2 separate regions of the Homo sapiens genome follow, and region 2 is linked to region 1. Evidence: promoter capture Hi-C in human tissues and cell types (Jung and others, 2019). All regions are on one chromosome and are shown on one strand. The core of a region is centred on a gene start or on the middle of the fragment in contact, and the rest is flanking DNA. Distances in the headings are between cores, read along the strand shown. Region 1 holds the start of ADARB1 (adenosine deaminase RNA specific B1). Region 2 overlaps ADARB1 (adenosine deaminase RNA specific B1).

Region 1 (2,700 bases), core at 136-2,635:
ATTCTCAATTAAAAAAACTACGGTTCTATCATCTTAATTATGGAGTTAAACGTTAAAGAAACAAGTTTGATATCATGCCACTTTTCGTTATACTTCGAGAACGGAATGCAATAATGGTTAGTAAGAAGGAAGTAAAATGCCTGTATCAGAAGTAACAGCCCAAACCTGCTGACCAAAAATATTAACTGGGAACTAAACACCACGGTGCAGATCTCCGACATAGAAACCTGGACAGGAACACGTTTTAGGTTAGGTTTTCCAGCGTGTAAATCGGGACTCCAACACGTTTCAGCGTCCACAGCCCAATCTGACACCTTCCCTCGCACCCATCCACCACGCAATAATTTTCCTTCTGATGTGAACACGTCAAAAGTCACCTCGGGCCCCCAACTGCCCCAGATTGCTCCCGATCGCTGCAGACGCCCGGCACCCGCAGGAACTTCCCTGGCCCGGGCCGCCCGCGGCGCAGAGCATCCCGCGCGGACACTGCGCCCTCGGAAGGACACGCAGGACCGTCCAGGGCGCAGACTCGTCCCCAACGCAGTCTCCACTCCCGTGGCACAGCGTCCCCTCCCAAGGCAGCCTCCCCTGCCCGGGCCCAGCCTCATCCCGGGCGCAGCCTGCCGTCCCCCGGCGCAGCGTCCCATGCCGGGCGGAGCGTCTCCCCAGGGACATAGCCTACCGTCCCCAGGCGCAGCCTTGTTGCCAACGCAGCCTCCCGTTCCCCGGCGCAACCTTGTACCCGGGGCAGCCTCTGGTCCCCGGGCGCAGCCTCGTCCCCAGCGCAGCCTCCGATCTCCAGGGCACACCGTCCCCTCCCCAAAACGCAGTCTCGGTCCCCAGGGCGCAGCCTCGTCCCGGCGCACCTGCCCTCCCCGCGGCGCAGCGCGGCGCATCCCACGCGGACTCGGCGCCCTCGGGAGGGGACGCGGGGCCGCCCGGGCGCAGCTTCCTCCGGGAGCCGAGCGCCGGAGCAGACGGGCGACCCAGGAGGGTGGGTGCGAGGCGGTGCCGCGGCACCCTCGCTTCTCCGCGGGCGCCCTCCGCTCCCGGGACGGCCCGCAGCTCCGGCCCCACCACCAGTCCCTGCCCGGCGCTTACATAAACGCCGCCACCGCGGGGTCCGGAGCCCGCGCCCGCCCGAGCCGCCGCGGCCCCGCGCCGCCCTCACCTCAGCCGCAGCCGCGCCGCGCCTGGTCCTCCGCACGCGCGCCCCACGCTTCGGCCGCAGTCTCGCGCCGGGCGGCGCTCTGCCTCGTTGGTTGTGCGCAGCGGCGCGGCGTGGCCGTGGCCTCGCGCGGCCCGGAGCCCCGGCCGCCAACCTGGCCGCTTGGCCGCCGCTGCCGCCGCCGCCGCCGCCGCCGCCACGGCCGCCTCAGCGCCTCAGCCCCGCCGCCGGCGGCTCCGCCCCCTCCCCGCCCCCGCCGGCCCGCCGGGCGCGCGCACGCCGAGGGGGCGGGGGCGGCGCAGCGACGCCGGACGTGCGCGCGCTGGGGCGCCCGTGTCTGTCGTGGGCAGCCGGAGCTGTGGCACCTCCCTCACGACCACCTGCGGCGGACGGGCGCGGGGCCGTTGGGGCTGGAGCGCGGCCGGAGCTGAGAGACCGCGGCTGGGCGGCTCCGGAGCGTGGGGCGAGAGCGCGGGACCGGCCTGGCGTCGCGGCGCCGCCCGCCCGAGCGCGGCTGAGGAGACTCTGCCCGCCTTCGTTTTGGGGACGGGGTCTCACTGTCGCCCAGACTGGAGCGCGGTGGACCTCCGAGCTCACGCGATCCTGCCGCCTCAGCCTCCCTGGTAGCTGGGACCGCAGGCGCCCGGCGATTGGCGTTTGCGTTTTGCGGAGGTGGCGTCTCGCGGTGCTGCCCAGGCTCCCGGGCCCCCGCGCTCCTCCCTGCAGCGGGCGCTGCCCCCGCCGAGCCCCCGCCGAGCCCCCGCCGAGCCCCCGCCGAGCCCCCGCCGAGCCCCCGCCGAGCCCCCGCCGAGCCACCCCTGCTTCTCCCTCTCCCGGAGTTGCCTGGGACACGCGGGTCCCGCCGGCCCCCTCTCCCCGCCCGTCATCCTCACTGTAGACTCCGGGAGAACCAGGTCGCGGCCCAGGACCCTGGCTGGACACGGTTCCCGCCGTCTCCTGTTTAGTCCGCACTGACACTAGCAGCTGCTCCAGTTACCAACGTTTAGGTGATGGTGGTTTTGTTTGATTTTTTTTGTTTGTTTGTTTGTTTTAGGTTGATAGTAAAAGCATTTTTTTATAGCATATGCAATAGACCTACTCTTCGATTTATCTATATTTACTGACTGTTCCACAGTTATACCAAGAAATGTTTACACAGATGATGATAAGCATATGTAGAAATGCAACGTTTTCACTGACCGGAATAACCAGCTCCAGGCTGCAGTTCTCTGCACGAAGATAAAGTTTGATAGGCAAACTTGGCAGCTCCTGACCGCGGCGACCTGAGCCCAGAGGAGCAGCCGGGGGCGGTGGGCAGAGCCAGGTGTGGACAAGCGGGTGGGTCCCGCACCTGGGTGGGGGAAGCGGCAGGTTCCAGGGTCAAATTGAGGTTGTACTAGCCCTGGCCTCCAAACCTCAGGCGGCCCACTCTGCCCTCGGCCTCTTTCCTCCCTTGTAAAGTGGGGAGTAAGAGACCATCGCAAGCCAGGGATGGGGTGGCGCACACTGTGATCTCAGCCAGTCTGGAGGCT
Region 2 (2,700 bases), core at 142-2,641, 140 kb before region 1:
AATGAAGAGCCCTGGAAATGATAGCTACATGGATAAATATACAAGAGGTTTTTTTCTTATTATTTAAATTCCTTTAAAAGATAATTATTAAGATGAAAATAATAAGATGTGGATTTTTTTAACACATGCAAAAGTGTCTGAAAACAATACCACAAAGGTTGGGAATGGAAAAACGAAAGTATCCTGTTGTAAGGTTCTTTTACTATATGTGAAGTAGTATAATATCACTTGAAGGGAGATCGTGGTAAGAATGCATACTATAAACCCTAAAAACCACCACCAAATTAACAAAAGTTACAGCTCAAAAGTCAAGAAGGAGTCAAAATGGAATCATCAAACACACCCAATTAAGGCAAAAGCAGTAAGAAAATGAGGAAAAAGTGAACAAAGAACATATGAAACACGTAGAAAATAAGTAGCAAGATGAAATTTAAACCTAATAATATCAATAATCACAATAAATGTAAATGGTCTAAGTACCTCAGTGAAAAGGCAGAGATTGTCCATGGTGGGAGAGAGAAGCAAGATCCAAACATATAAATATATATAAATATATGTCTATAAGAAACATATTTTTAAGATAAAGTACTTTAATATAAAGGGATAGAAGATACACTGTGCTAACACTAATCAAAAGAAAGTTGAGGAGGTTATATTAATCTCAAAACAAATTTCAGAACAAACACTATTACCAGAAATAAAGAGGGTCATCATATAATGGTAAAGGAGGTCGGTTTATTAAGATAAACCAACAATCCTACATTTTTATGCATCTAATCACAGAGCTACAAAATACAGGAAGTAAAAACTCTAAAAAAGGGGAAGAAATAGATAATGTACAATTATAACTAAGAGATTTTCAATCCTGCCTCTCAATAACTGATAGACCAAGTAGAAGATCGGTAAGAATATAAAAGAAAATAAATAGTATAATCAAACAACTTGGCCTAATCAACATTTACAGATCACTCTACCCCAAAGTGGCAGATTCACATTCTTTCAAGTTTTGTGGAACACTTATAAAGATAGATCATATTCTGGTCCATAAAACCAAGTCTAATAAATTTAAAAGGACTGAAGTCATTAAATGAAACTAAAAAACCAACAACAGAAAGATCTCTGTAAAATCCCTAGTATTTTGAAACTAAATAGCAGACTTCTAAATAACCCAAGGGACAAAGTATTTTAATATAAGTGAAAATGAAAACATATCATAATTTTTAAATGCTACAAAAGCAGTAAAAAGGGTCTTAAAACAATGACCTCAACTAGCACCTTAAAAAACTACAAAAAGATGGGCAATTGAAACACCAGGTAAGCGGAAAAAAAAGAAATAATTAAAATCAGAGTAAAAATTATTGAAATATAAAACAAAAGACAAAAATCACTGAACCTAAAAGTTGGCACTTAGAGACAAACAGAATTGAAAAACTTCCAGCTAGACTGATCAGAAAAAAACAACCAAGAGAAGATACAAATCATCAATATAAGGGATAAGACGATATCATTAGAGATATCACAGATATTAAAATGAATATTCTGAATGCTTTTATGCCAATATATTAGACAAATTAGATGAAATGGACAAATTCCCTGAAAGACAAATTACTGAAGCTTACTCAAGAAAAAAGATAAAAACAGATAACATGAATAGCCCTAAATCTATTATAGAAAAATAAATTGTAGTTAGAATTTTCTTACAAAGCAAACTTCAGGCCCAATGGTTTCACTGGTGAATTTAACCATATATTTAAAGAAATAATACCAAATCCAAACAAACTCTTCCAGAAAACTGAAGAGAAAGAAATGCACCCCAACTCATTTTATGCCTGACAAAGACATTAAACTAAAATGATAGCCCAATATCCCTACAGACAAATATAAATACAAAAATTCTAAATGAAATTTTAGCAAACTGAATCCAACAATATATAAAAAGAATAGCACATAATAACCATATAACGTTTATCCCAAGATGCAAAGTTGGTTTAATTTTTTTTTAACGTCACCACTAGCAAACTGAAAAATGAACTAAATGCTCATCTCATTTTTTGTTGTTGTTGTTTCAGATGGGGTCTCACTACATTGCCCAGGATGGCCTCAAACTCCAGGGCTCAAGTGATCCTCCTGCCTTAGTTCCCAAGTAGCTGGGACTATAGGCCTAAGTCACTGCAATGACAACAGTCATCTAAGAGCAGAAAAAAAGCATCAGACAAAATCCAGCATACATTCTTGATTAAAAACGCTGAGTAAGCTATAAATAGAAAAAAAAAATGTCTTGAGCTGATAAAGACATCTGTAAAAAACCTACAGCAGCCAGATATGGTGGATCATTCCTATAATCTCAGCACTTTGGGAGACTGAGGCAGGCGGGTTGCTTGAGGCCAGGAGTTCAAGACCAATCTGGGCAACATAGGAAGACATTGTCTCTATAAAAAATTTAAAAATGAACCAGGCATGGTGGCATGCACCTGTAGTCCCAGCTACTCAGGAGGCTGAGACAGGAGGATCACTTGGGCCCAGGAGTTTCAGGTTACAATGAGCTATGATCACGTTACTGCACTCCAGCCTGGGTGAAAGAGTGAGACCTTGTCTCTAAAACAAAAAACAGCAATAAAAAATCCTACAGCCAACATCATACCTAATGGTGAAAGACTGAATGTGTTCCCCCAAGATGACATGTAAGAGAAGGATGTCTGC

The links. Contacts are between HindIII fragments. The study calls those that stand out against the background at their distance.
Region 2: a fragment that was not itself captured here is called in contact with the fragment with the promoter of ADARB1 in region 1 in 2 of the 25 tissues and cell types used here (mesendoderm cells and thymus).

What each region holds. Positions count from the first base shown.
Region 1 is chr21:45,073,265-45,075,964 of GRCh38, reverse strand. ADARB1 (adenosine deaminase RNA specific B1) reads right to left here and starts at 1,385. Exons shown (of 11, transcript NM_001112.4): 1 at 1,172-1,385. It overlaps LOC105372836 (a long non-coding RNA gene), which reads left to right and starts at 2,224. Exons shown (of 5, transcript XR_937796.3): 1 at 2,224-2,492. RefSeq lists silencers at 1,432-1,631, 1,652-1,741. The HindIII fragment of the contact is 7,799 bases long and covers 1-2,700 here.
Region 2 is chr21:45,214,962-45,217,661 of GRCh38, reverse strand. The region is part of intron 9 of ADARB1 (adenosine deaminase RNA specific B1); the gene reads right to left. Among named protein-coding and RNA genes, the nearest start is that of LINC00334, 18 kb to the left of the region's middle. The HindIII fragment of the contact is 3,297 bases long and covers 1-2,700 here.